3 separate regions of the Homo sapiens genome follow, and regions 1 and 3 are each linked to region 2. The links are contacts of gene promoters, found by promoter capture Hi-C in blood cells and fetal thymus (Javierre and others, 2016). All regions are on one chromosome and are shown on one strand. Each heading gives the region's core, a stretch centred on a gene start or on the middle of the fragment in contact. The rest is flanking DNA. Distances are from core to core; before and after follow the strand shown. Region 1 has its middle 120 kb from the start of MYO16. Region 2 holds the start of LIG4 (DNA ligase 4). Region 3 has its middle 160 kb from the start of MYO16.

Region 1 (4,411 bases), core at 1,720-4,219, 300 kb after region 2:
CTTCTTAAATTTGGATGTCTATTTTCATCCTCAGATTAGAGAAGTTTCCAGCCATTATTTATTCAGATAAGTTCTCTGCCTCTTTCTCTTTTTCTTTTCTTCTGGGTCTCTCATAATGCATATGTTGGCCCAGTCAGTGATGTCTCATAAGTATCTTATGATTTCTTCATTTCTATCTGATTGGTATTATAGAAAATAATATCACTTATATTATTATCTACCTTCTGATTAGATGACTTCAAATGACTTATCCTCAAATTCAGCATTTTTTTTTCTTTTGCTTGGCCAAGTCTGTTGAACATTTATAGTGAATTTTTCAGCTCAGTTATTATATACTTAAAGTCCAGAAATTTTTTTTTAATGTGTAATTCCTATCTCTTTGTTAATATTCTCTTTTTGTTCACACATAGGTTTCTGGATTTTTTTCTTATTTGTCTATCTGTGTCTTATTTAAACTCATTAAGCTGCTATAAGATAGCTATTTCAAATTATTTGTTACATAATTCATAGATCTCGACTTCTTTCAGGTTGAATTCTGGATATTTATTTTGTTCTTTTGATTGGGCCAAGTTTCCCTCTTTCTCTGTATGCCTTGTAGTTTTTTGCTGAAACTTGGGCATTTGAAAAAAAAAAAAAAGCTATCTTTCTTAGTCTTTATGGACTAGCTTTATACTGAGGAAGACTTTCACTAGTCAGCCCAGCTAGAGGTTCTGGAGGCCTCTCAAAGCTTTTTTGGGGATGCACTTTCTCTGGCTAGTATGTGTAATTTTCCAGAGAGGTTTGCTTGTTTCTTTTCTTGGAGTTTGTAATCTCCTGCTCCCTCTGGTGTTTATCTTTGTTGCTGCTTCAGCAAGCCAACCGTTCTCTTTTGTTCTCAGTGGCTCCCAGGGATCTAAAGTATGCAAGTTTTGTCAGTATTCTAAATCAGGTTGAAGAGAAATCAGTGTCTTGCTATCTCCTGAAAGCCCTAACATTGGATGCATTTTTTCCTCCTTCTCTTTCCCTCCTGAGAGAGAAGCTATGAGTTGAGAGTTTTCTCCCAGCTGTGCTGAGCTCTGCCAGCTTGGGGTAGAGGGAGGGACGGTAGAATGTAAAGGCTTTTCTTATCCATTTCAGTGCAGATATTCTTGAAGTTGCATTCCCTGAGGGTACTGCAGCTTCTTCATTGGTTTCTGAAGTTCTCGTAAAGGTGTTTGGTTCATATGTTGCTTTTTAGACAGTGTCTTTTTGGGAGAGTGAGGGATGGGACTTACTATTCAGTTATCCTGTTACCATCCCATAGACTGGAGTTTAGTTTAATTTTAACCAGATGTTCTGCAAACTTTCCTGGATTTTCCAGAGGACACCATTGCTCTCATTAGCTGTCATTCCTATTTGTGGACAGGAGAAACTGAGTAAGGTGAGAAACGCTGAGCTAAACCAGGTTGCTTTAAAGTAAAATGTTTAATAAACCAGTGTTAGCCTTAGACCATCAAAGATAAATTTTAGTAAAAGATAGTTAAAAGAACAGGTAGAGAGATCTGAAACCTTCAGGGAGTAATATAAGTAGAGGACTGATCAAGGTCAAATAATGAAAGACCAACAGAAACGGAATTGGAATCCCAGATAAATATCAACTTGCACAGTATGATACTTGCACAACCTGAAGAGTATTTTTAAGTGACGATTTCTCTCCTACAGAAACTAGAGAAAGGGTTTTTGGTTGTTAATAGAAACATTACAAAGTACAAATAATTCAAAAGAAAAAAATGAAAGAATTCATAATCCTACTACTCTATGGAAAGCTACACTTTACACTTTGCTGTACATCTTTCCCTAAGGTTGACTGTCGGATTGTGTATACATGTATGTGTACATATGAGAATATACAAGTTAGCATTAATTCCACTCTTTCCTCATAATGTAGTAACCACATGGTTTGAATGAGATTGGTCCAACTCAAGCTCTAAAAGTGGGCTATGATTGGCTTCAGTTGATCAGCATAATCTTGCTTGCTCTGATGACTTTATTTTACCTTTGGTCACTTTTCAAGTTTAAGAATAGCATTAGAAGATATACCTAATGTTAAATGACGAGTTAATGGGTGCAGCATACCAATATGGCACATGTATACATATGTAAAAAACCTGCACATTATGCACATGTACCCTAAAACTTAAAGTATAATAATAATAAAAAAAGGAATATGACCCAACTGAGTGTGGCCCAGGACTTTTCTTGCATCATGGACTCTCTCTTTTTCTTCCCCCGCCCAACCCCAACATTGTTTTGCTACAGTCATGGTGCTGTCATCCCAGAAGCCCTTTTATTACTAACTTTGCTACAAGATACAGCAGAAGTTGAGTACGTTGAGTGAGAAGAGCAAGGGGCTAAAGCCATGGTCAAGTAACACCTGAAATAATCCCCAATATTAGTTCTGCCCTAGAATGCTTGTGGATTGCAGAAGGATAGTCATGATAGTTAATTTTTATTTTTTGTTTGTTTGTTTTCGTTTTTTGTTTTTCGAGACAGAGTCTCGCCCTGTCGCCCAGGCTGGAGTGCAATGGCGCTATCTCGGCTCACTGCAAGCTCTGCCTCCCGGGTTCACGCCATTCTCCAGCCTCAGCCTCCCGAGTAGCTGGGACTACAGGTGCCCGCCATCACGCCCGGCTAATTTTTTTGTGTTTTTAGTAGAGATGGGGTTTCACCGTGTTAGGCAGGATGGTCTCGATCTCCTGACCTTGTGATCCATCCTCCTTGGCGTCCCAAAGTGCTGGGATTACAGGCGTGAGCCACCATGCCCGGTAGATAGTTAATTTTTTTTTTTTTTTTATATTTAACATTGATAGCTGTTTTTTTTTTTTTTTTTTTTTTTTATTGTACTTTAAGTTTTAGGGTACATGTGCACATTGTGCAGGTTAGTTACATATGTATACATGTGCCATGCTGGTGCACTGCACCCACTAACGTGTCATCTAGCATTAGGTATATCTCCCAATGCTATCCCTCCCCCCTCCCCCGACCCCACCACAGTCCCCAGAGTGTGATATTCCCCTTCCTGTGTCCATGTGATCTCATTGTTCAATTCCCACCTATGAGTGAGAATATGCGGTGTTTGGTTTTTTGTTCTTGTGATAGTTTACTGAGAATGATGGTTTCCAATTTCATCCATGTCCCTACAAAGGACATGAACTCATCATTTTTTATGGCTGCATAGTATTCCATGGTGTATATGTGCCACATTTTCTTAATCCAGTCTATCATTGTTGGACATTTGGGTTGGTTCCAAGTCTTTGCTATTGTGAATAATGCCGCAATAAACATACGTGTGCATGTGTCTTTATAGCAGCATGATTTATAGTCATTTGGGTATATACCCAGTAATGGGATGGCTGGGTCAAATGGTATTTCTAGTTCTAGATTCCTGAGGAATCGCCACACTGACTTCCACAATGGTTGAACTAGTTTACAGTCCCACCAACAGTGTAAAAGTGTTCCTATTTCTCCACATCCTCTCCAGCACCTGTTGTTTCCTGACTTTTTAATGATTGCCATTCTAACTGGTGTGAGATGATATCTCATAGTGGTTTTGATTTGCATTTCTCTGATGGCCAGTGATGATGAGCTTTCTTCGTGTGTTTTTTGGCTGCATAAATGTCTTCTTTTGAGAAGTGTCTGTTCATGTCCTTCGCCCACTTTTTGATGGGGTTGTTTGTTTTTTTCTTGTAAATTTGTTTGAGTTCATTGTAGATTCTGGATATTAGCCCTTTGTCAGATGAGTAGGTTGCGAAAATTTTCTCCCATGTTGTAGGTTGCCTGTTCACTCTGATGGTAGTTTCTTTTGCTGTGCAGAAGCTCTTTAGTTTAATTAGATCCCATTTGTCAATTTTGGCTTTTGTTGCCATTGCTTTTGGTGTTTTGGACATGAAGTCCTTGCCCACGCCTATGTCCTGAATGGTAATGCCTAGGTTTTCTTCTAGGGTTTTTATGGTTTTAGGTCTAACGTTTAAATCTTTAATCCATCTTGAATTGATTTTTGTATAAGGTGTAAGGAAGGGATCCAGTTTCAGCTTTCTACATATGGCTAGCCAGTTTTCCCAGCACCATTTATTAAATAGGGAATCCTTTCCCCATTGCTTGTTTTTCTCAGGTTTGTCAAAGATCAGATAGTTGTAGATATGCGGCATTATTTCTGAGGGCTCTGTTCTGTTCCATTGATCTATATCTCTGTTTTGGTACCAGTACCATGCTGTTTTGGTTACTGTAGCCTTGTAGTATAGTTTGAAGTCAGGTAGTGTGATGCCTCCAGCTTTGTTCTTTTGGCTTAGGATTGACTTGGCGATGCGGGCTCTTTTTTGGTTCCATATGAACTTTAAAGTAGTTTTTTCCAATTCTGTGAAGAAAGTCATTGGTAGCTTGATGGGGATGGCAT
Region 2 (4,715 bases), core at 1,976-4,475:
AAAGTATCTGCTAAAGTCAGAGAAGAAATAATGGGTACCTTGCTAAGCTAGGGCAAGAATATTTCCTAAAATTTCACAAGTGTAAATTTCTTTAGTTTTAAATATTCATACAAGTTCTACTGGAAGATAAATATATTAGAGTAATTTTAATATGGTTTAAACTATGTAATGTTAAATAACTTTTCCAAAAAAAGATTTCAAGTAAAATGTATGGTCCATGAATAGAAACTATGTTTTATCCTGTGGTTTCAGACCCCTCCTGGCACACCACCATGTATCCCAGGCAGTGGAGTTGGAGAAGTTTTGCTGGGAGTGGGGAGATCTATTACAGTGCAGAAAATATGTGACTCCCCATCTTCCAATTCGCAAACAAATGAGCAACACACACATGCACAAGGCTACATTATCTAGTATCCAGTAAAATAAATCAAATGGCTAATTACAATACTACATTTACTATACTGTCAGTATCTAGAGGCCAGGAATTGTGCTGTAATTTGTGCTCTAGTGGCAGACATGTAGGAGGTTTGCTGAATGAATTACTGAACACCTAGAGTTGACTCCTGGATAAGCACACTAGGGAAAGCTATGGTCTGGTTACATACCACACACTCACACACGCACGCAGACACACAGTGGGTGAGATTCAGTTTGGTTAAAAATATTCAGTAGCTCTGACTGCCCTGGCAATGGTTTACAACAGCCATTTGGTGGCCTATAGAGAAAAAAGGTGCACTTCTCAGTCTAATTTCTGACAAAGGAAACCCAGCTTCTACTGAGTGGGTTAGATCGAGGGATAAACGCATGACAGACCACTTTCCTGAAACTTTTATCTTTGAATATACTGTTGTTTCCTCTCTCTGAATCTGGTTTGCATAACTGACTGTAACACCTGGTTATGTATGTTCACTGCCCTATCTCCCAAAATTTGCTCCCTCAAGGGAGTAAACAGGGTACACAATGCTATATCTACAATTTCTATATAAACTATGTAAAATAAAGTAGGTTAACTAATATTTCTTTAATATTCAAATATTGGTATATAGTTTCTACAGATATATCTATAGATTCTACATGGTCTCAAAGTTAAAGTTTCGCTCAACAAATCCCAGGCAAGGACTTAAATTACTTTATAATGACAAAATGTAGGTAATGGTGTGGATACACATGTATCCTAAAATGGCTACGCCTATAACAAGGATTCCAAAATTGCCATAAACTAGTCGTAAGTATTTTTGCTCATTACAACGGCATAAAAAGTCAAAGATTAGGACTTCCATTCATTTTTACATGCTAATTTTATTTTTTGGATTCTGAGGATTTTAGCTGATTCATTCCATTTGCAGTAAGACAAATGAGGAGGTTCCTGGTTAGGGCTCAGGTTTTAGACTCTAATAAATCTGAGTTCAAATGTGGATGGTAACATTTAACAGCTGTGTGATACTGGGCAATTACTTAATTTCTCTAAGCTTCAGTTTCCTAAAGTATAAAATGGGGTTAAAAACTATGTAGAAATTAGAATGAAGATAAAAATCAGATAATCTACAAAATGTGCTTTAAAAAGTAGTAAGTCTTGATAATTTTAATACTATAATGCTTGCTGATCCAAGCAACATTTAAAATATAAATATTGCAAAATATTAACGAGATAAAAAGGTGGGAAGAAGCTTCACTCTTTAACAATAAGCAAAGCTTTCAGGAGAATGAATGCAAGCAATTAGTACACAATAACGATTCATCATTCATTCAGTTCTGACTAAATTGTCCTGAAGTGACACATGAAAATAAACCGGCAGGTTTTATTCAGTGACTATGGAAGGTGATTAAGTGCTATGCTATTGCACTTAAAAAAGAGAGAGGAAAAAAAGGAGTAAGTGACGAATGCAACTGAAGTATCCTTCATGCAACCCTTGACAAGCTGTGTTTCCCTAGGAAACAAAGGGTTTACAGCTGCCTATCTTCCACAGCACTTAGTGACAATTTGGGACAATCTCAGCAAAAAGAAATGAGCAGACAAAGACGCTAGAAGGGCTTTGGGATCCCAAAAGTTAATGAAAGACCAAGTGTAAGAAGAGAAATAAAGTAATTCCCTCCAAGCCTAAAGTCTCTCCCGCTCCAATGCCCCCTGTACCCTCTCGGAAAATGGAAAATCCCTAAGGAGTCTACATCATTCCTCTGCCCGTTCCCCCTACTCTCCCCCAACCCTTCACGGATTCCCAGTGAATACCTGGCCTCGGGCAAGCTCCGTTACCTCTGTGAACCAGAGAATCCCAGCTGTAAAATGAGATCTTGATGGTTTCCTGCGGGGTTGCCATGAGAAAGAATCAACATGTACGCAGGTAAAGCAGGCAATACAGTTCCAGGGAGTCAAAAACGGGAGAAATCGTCCCACGACCTGGGGCTTGGGTCTAGATGAAGAGCACAGCATCAGGAGGCCAGGCTTCTAATGCGGCGCAGTCTACAGCGCTGTGGACTCGGCAACTCCCATCACCTGCCGCTGCACAAACACCCTGCTTGCTGCCCCCATAGACCGACCCCCGCCTGACGCCTCCCAGACCCCCCCACCTGACGCCCCTCAGGCCCCCCGCCTGACGTCCCAGACACCCCCACGACCGGATCCCCCAGACCCCCAATCTGACGCCCCACTTCCCCTACTTGACTCCCCACACATCCCCCGCCTGACGACCCCCCGACCCCCGCCTGACGTCCCAGACACCACCCATCTGATCCCCCAGACCCCCAATCTGACGCCCCACACCCCCCACTTGACTCTCCACACACCCCACACCTGCCACCCCACGTAAACCCCGCCTGACACCTCACAGACCCTAACCTGACGCCCCACAGACCTCCCCCGCCTCCTGCCGCCACACACACCCCAAACCCCGCCCCGAACACCCCCCACCTGCCGCCCCACAGATTCCCCCCTCTGACGCCCCACAGACCCCCAACGTGACGCCCTACAGACCCCAACCTGACGTCCCACAGATACCCCGCCTGACGCCCCACAGACCTTCCCCCGGTCTGTTGCCCCACAGACTTCTCGCCGCCTGCTGGACCACACCTTCCACTTGACTCCCCCCACACCGTCAATCTGCCACCCCCCACCCCCCCCACCCCAACCCCCCCCAACCTCCCAACCGCCCCCACCTGCCACCCCACACCCTTCCCACCTGACGTCAAGCCTGAAGCTCAGCCGCTAAGCCGGAAGCTGGCGCCAGAAGATGCCGGTTCCGCCAGCTGCTCGCCGCGCAGGCGCAGGGGAGACCCGGGGCCTTGCAGTCACCGGGCTCAAGCACGCCGGCGCAGCCAGGCTCGCGATGGGAGGTGGGGGGGCCGGCAGCCCCGTGGGGCTGCGGAGGCGGGACCTGCAGGATCCTGGTTAGGGTCTTGAGTACACACGGCTCCTATTGGCCTCGGCAGCAGATGCTCTCTGCAAGCAGTTGATCCACACGCCAGTGGATTTTGTCTCGAGGGAGACCTAAGATCACTTTGTGCTCTGGCTAGTGATAGCCTCTAATTCTTGTTCTCTGTACGTAAAACAGTGGTAACTATACTGATTTCGCTGGTTGTGAAAACTCCCAAGAGAGAACAGGACATCCTCCCAACTCAAAACGTTGGTTGTTTCATTTAAACTTTTAAAAAATAGGCTTTTGCAAACTATATAGAGCTGTTTTTTTTTTTAAATGATGTTTGCTACTGTGGTCTCAGTTCTCTTAATACAGAAATAATACATAACAATACATAACTTACAATATAGAAATAAACCGTTGCATGACCAGAAATCAACTATGGACTCTTCTAGTATCTGTTTAAGGTTTAAAAATAAAGTTATTTAACAAACCTTTATTGAGCACCTATTATTATATAGTAATGGTGCTAGATATTCAGGGTGGAGAGATTATAAACAACCCCAGTTTTTGTGTTCCAGGAGCTGTTGGTTTCCACCGAATTTTTGCTGTGGTCAGTCCTCTTTCGCCATGGAGAAGTGAGAAGTTATTCATAAAGAGGGGTGGAAACAACTTTTAGAACTATTTTATTTTAGCATAAAATATTGCTTTACAATAAAATAAATTTTGCTGCAGTGGGCCCTGATAAAACATATTAGAGCTGTTAAGTGCCCTTAGAGGTTGTGTAATGTATAAAAACCTCCTTTTTCAAAACTGACACATTTCATTCAGTGCTAGTTTGTAGCGGAGGTTCCGTCTAGCCCAAGAACATTCAGTTATTTACTTCGTATGTCTAATTGACCTAATATGCCTGAATATCTAAAATCATCTGTGATGTTGTAAAGTCTCATGATATTGTTTTGTGAGTATCTGCTCTTCAATTTAGTTATCAATTTATTTTGGAGGAAAAATGAATAGTGTTAAGGTAGAGGAGCCTCCACTTGCCCATCTTAGGAGAGGGTACCTATCCGTGTACATTTGTAGCTTGTTCAACCTCTACTGAGCTCCTACAATGTCAGAAGCTGGACTTTGTATTAGTTACATGAGAAGAACCATGAATTATGAAACCAGGCAAACTCCAAATTGATTCAAAGCCCAGTCTCCATTTCATCATGTTATTTTAGTTGATTGGTTCAAAGACAATCAAGGGTTTTTTTCACTAAGTATCTTCTAGAGTTGCCATGATTATTAATTTATTTATGTAAATGGTCTACTTTATATATGCTTGGCACTTATTCCGTGATCAAGATTAGGAAGCTATGATTC
Region 3 (4,651 bases), core at 1,504-4,003, 260 kb after region 2:
TACAGGAAAAAGGAGGTGAAATCAAAGTTAGATTAAAAGATAAGGAAGGACTGAGATTGTAGTTAAATGGCAGCCAGGAAACAGATGAAGTTGAATGAAGTCTAAATGAAGAGTGACAGGAGAGAAATGCATGCAATGAGTGAAGAGCAGCTGCTCCTCCAGCCATCAATTGGGACGTGGGCTCAGAGCAATGAGCCAAGACCTAGCACAAATCTAACTTACTCTTGGGCTGCCAAGGGAGAACATAACCAGAAAGCAGCACCCAGCCAGGTGGTGCCATTGCAGGTTTGTCTTGCAGGGAAATGAACTGGAGCTTGTGTAGCAGGAGTTAGCAGATGCTTCTGAACCTTTTTGGGTTACAACTGCACCACTTTGCCAACTCCTGCATTTGCTGATGCACAGTGTCCTGGTATAATAGTGCAAGACGAAGTATCATAGCACTTTTTCTAAGGCAGTGGTGAGATGGTGGAAAGAGCTTTCAAATCAGAAAAACAGCCATTAATGTGAATTTGTAATTGCCTTTCTAGCAGCTGAATTGTTCTGAGTACTCACTGACCTCTTTGAAAGACTTGGTTTTATCGGTAAAATGAGATCAATAATAGCAATTCATAGCTCACACACTAAACAAGGTTGCTGTGAAATTCTCCAAGGTAACATTTGATACTGAAATCTGTAAATTGAAAAGAAGTTGGGAACTACGCAAGCCTATGGAGAGGGAAGCTCCAGAGATCAACTTGGCATTGTGGAAAATGCAATGAGAGATGCTGGTGCCTGGCACCACCCCCCAGCTGCCAAATCAGAATCTGTATCTAACAAAATCCCCGGGTGATTCATATGCACATGAAAGGATAAGAAATGATCTTTTAAGTCACGTTGGTGAATGCAAGAAACTCAACTTACTTTTCATACTCAAGGGAACTCCTTAAGTAAAGTTTATGTACTAGTTGAAATGGTTTGGCTCTGTGTCCTCACCCAAACCTCATCTCAAATTGTAATTCCACGTGTCGAGGAAGGGACCAGTAATCCCCACATGTTGAAGGAGGGAGGTGATTGGATCATAGGAGCAGTTTCCCCCATGCTGTTTTTCCTTACAAGATCTTCTTACAAGATCTGATGTTTTTATAAGTATTTGGAAGTTCCTCCTTTGCTCTTCTCTCTCCTGATGCCTTGTGATGAAGGTGGCTCCTTTCTGTTCCACCATGATTTTAAGTTTCCTGAGACCTCCCCAGCCATGTGGAACTGTGACTCAATTAAACCTCTTTCCTTTGTAAATTACTAGTCTCAGGAAAATTCTTTATAGCAGTGTGAAAATGGACTAATACAATAAATTTGTACCAGGAGTGGGGCACTGCTATAAAGATAACCTGAAAATGTGGGAGCAACTTTGGAACTGGGTAACAGGCAGAGGTTGGAACAACTTGGAGGGCTCAGAAGAAGACAGACAGACGTGGGAAAGCTTGGAACTTCCTAGAGACTTGTTGAATGGCTTTGACCAAAATGATGATAATGATGTAAACAAAAAAATTCAGGCTGAGATGGTCTCAGATGGAGATAAGGAGCGTCTTGGGAACTGGAGCAAAGATTACTCTTGCTTCGCTTGAGCAAAGAGACTGATGACATTTTGCCCCTGTCCTAGAGATCTACAGAACTTTGAACTCAAGAAAGCTGATCTGAAATGGCAACTTATGTTTAAAAGGGAAGCAGAGCATAAACATTTGGAAAATTTGCAGCCTAATGATAACGATAGAAAAAAAATTTCTGGGGAGAAATTCAAGGAGGCTGCAGAAATTTGCATAAGTAACGAGGAGCCGAATGTTACTAGCCAAGACAATGGAGAAAATGTCTCCAGGGCATGTCAGAGATCTTGGTAGCAGCCCCTCCCATCATAGGCCTGAGGCCTAGGAGGAAAAAATGGTTTCATGGGCCAGGCCCAGGGCCCTGCTGCTGTGTGCAGCCTTGGGACTTGGTGCCCTGCATCCCAGTCACTCCAACTCCAGCCATGGCTAAAAGGGGACAATGTACAGCTCAAGCCATTGCTTCAGAAGCTGCAAGCCACAAGACTTGGCAGCTTCCACATGGTGTTGAGCCTGCAGGTGCACAGAAGTCAAGAACTGAGGTTTGGGAACCTCCATCTAGATTTCATAGGATGTATGGAAACACCTAGATGTCTAGGCAGAAGTCTGTTGCAGGGGTAGAGCCCTTATGCAGAACCTCTGCTAGGGAAGTGTGGAAGGGAAATGTGAGGCTGGGGCCCCCACACAGAGTCCCTACTGGGCCACTGCTTAGCGGAGCTATGAGAAGAGGGCCACCATCCTCCAGAACCCAGAATGGTAGATCCACCAATAGCGTGCACTGCCTGGAAAAGCCACAAGCACTCAATGCCAGCCTGTGAAGGAGCTGCCCAAGGCCATGGGCATCCGCTCCTTGCATCGGCATGCCTGGGATGTGAGACATGGAGTCAAAGGAGATTATTTTGGAGCTTTAAGATTTAATGACTGTCACTGGATTTTGCTCCTACATGGGGCCTGTAGCCTCTTTGTTTTGGCAAATTTCTCCCATTTGGGATGGGAGCATTTAACCAATGCCTGCACCCCCATTGCATCTAGGAAGTAACTAACTTGCTTTTGATTTTACACGCTCATAGGTGGAAGGGACTTGCCTTGTCTCTGATGAGACTTTAGACTATGGACTTTTGAGTTAATGCTGAAATGAGTTAAGACTTTGAGGAGACTGTTAAGAAGGGATGATTGGTTTTCAAATGTGAAAAGACATGAGATTTGGGAGGGTTCAGGGCAGAATGACATGGTTTGGTTCTGTGTTGTCACCCAAACCTCATCTCGAATTCTAATCCTCACATGTCGAGAGGGGACCTGTAATCCCCACATGTAGAGGGATGGAGGTGATTGGATCATGGGGGCAGTTTCCCCCATGCTGTTCTAGTGAGTTTTCATGAGATCTGATGGTTTTATAAGTGTTTGGAAGTTCTTCTTTGCTCTTCTCTCTCTCTCTCGTTGCCTTGTGAAGAAGGTGGCTGCTTCCCCTTCTGCCAGGATTGTAAGTTTCCTGGGCACTCCCAAGCCATGTGGAGCTGTGAGCTGATTAAACCTCTTTCCTTTATAAATTACCCAGTCTCAGGGAAGTTCTTTATAGCAGTGTGAAAATGGACAAATATACTAGTTATTTGTCTCAATGCACTAAGACCTACTTACCTCTGATCAAAATTCAGAAGAAAATTTTTTCAATGTAAACTAAAAACATAAATGACATGCTCAGGATAAAAATATAACATCCCAAATTCAGGAGAGTTAAATGAAAACATTATATGCAATCATGAAATCTGAATTTGAGTCCTAAATGTTTTCCTCACCGGATTTGGGAAAGAGCTATGTTCAGTAATCTCAAACATTAAATTGAAGTAATGAAATTAATGGTTTCCAAGAACTTTAAGATTACAAGAACTATTTTATATAGAAGTTATTTTAAGCTATATAGCAATTTACAAATGTTAATTATTTCTGTTTAATTGTTTCTTAAAAGGTTTAACATCTTCTACACCAGAGTATCATGACAGGTAAAATTAGCTACAATCCTTCTGTAAACACTGCCACTTTGACAACCTGGTTATGTGTGCCTATAAATAAAATGCTTCATTGGAAAATATTTTTCACAGACCAAAATAACAAGAAAAGAAAGTGTGCCATTGCCACAGCAAGTAGCACACATTTATCTTGTGAAAGATGCAAATGTTGAGATATATGCTTACATTCACTTTTACTGTTGATCATTTCTAAAACAACTGTGAGGTCCAAATTTAGTGGCCATCTATGCTTATTATATTTTAAATCAGTCATTTATTATAGATGCCATTTTGTAAGACTGCAATACATATGCTATGTATCAATTAATTCTCTCATCTTAATGTTCTGCCTCCTCTATTTGTCTTTTGCTTTCATTTCCATACCTATGCACCTCTTTCTACAGCTGCTCTTTGAACAACAAAAGTTTTGAACTGTGTAGGTCAACTTATATACAGATTGTTTGCAATCAAATGAAGCTTGAAAATACAGTATTCATGGGATACAAAACCTGCCTATACCAAGGGCAGACTCTTCAGATACACAGGTTTCACATGGCTGACGTGGGGACTTGCGTATGGACAGATCTTGGTGTACTCAGGGATCCTGGAACCAATTCTGTGTATAACAAAGGACAACTGCACTTTATATTTCTCCTCGTAAGCTGTCTTATATTCTTTCAGAAAGAAAAGAATTAAAAATAGATACTGTGGAATGCTGTTCAGAAGCAAATTCTGTTTGAAATGTACATTATATACCTGTATATACATGATATATATGTATATGTATAATTTATATTTTAAGATTTAAAAATGCATTTTATGGTGGAACCAAATTTAAGAATGTTAAGTAACAATCACATATAACAATTGTACTCGGTATTGTTAGAAAGACAAGATGTCATTTTTAAAAATTGCAGTTTTGAACATTGTGTTTTCAGAGACCAATGATATTTTTGTTTTTACTCTTAGTAATTTTTTAAAATACAGGAATAAGAACAACCACCTGAAAATTTAATGGCTAACATAAACCACTTTGGCCTCTAGAGGTTTATTTGAAATGGCAACTCATTTTTT

The links. The method cuts DNA at HindIII sites, captures the fragments that hold promoters and counts their contacts. A CHiCAGO score of 5 or more calls a contact.
Region 1: a contact is called between a fragment that was not itself captured here and the fragment with the promoter of LIG4 in region 2, in 1 of 17 cell types (M0 macrophages). The highest score is 5.0, in M0 macrophages.
Region 3: a contact is called between a fragment that was not itself captured here and the fragment with the promoter of LIG4 in region 2, in 1 of 17 cell types (neutrophils). The highest score is 5.1, in neutrophils.

What each region holds. Positions count from the first base shown.
Region 1 is chr13:108,507,631-108,512,041 of GRCh38, forward strand. It overlaps a transcript of MYO16 not described here. Among named protein-coding and RNA genes, the nearest start is that of MYO16, 120 kb to the right of the region's middle. The HindIII fragment of the contact is 4,489 bases long and covers 726-4,411 here.
Region 2 is chr13:108,212,311-108,217,025 of GRCh38, forward strand. It overlaps LIG4 (DNA ligase 4), which reads right to left and starts at 3,226. Exons shown (of 3, transcript NM_206937.2): 1 at 3,174-3,226; 2 at 2,228-2,300. RefSeq lists an enhancer at 3,151-3,445 and a silencer at 3,289-3,428. The HindIII fragment of the contact is 5,824 bases long and covers 1,691-4,715 here.
Region 3 is chr13:108,470,277-108,474,927 of GRCh38, forward strand. No RefSeq gene overlaps it. Among named protein-coding and RNA genes, the nearest start is that of MYO16, 160 kb to the right of the region's middle. The HindIII fragment of the contact is 2,598 bases long and covers 1,455-4,052 here.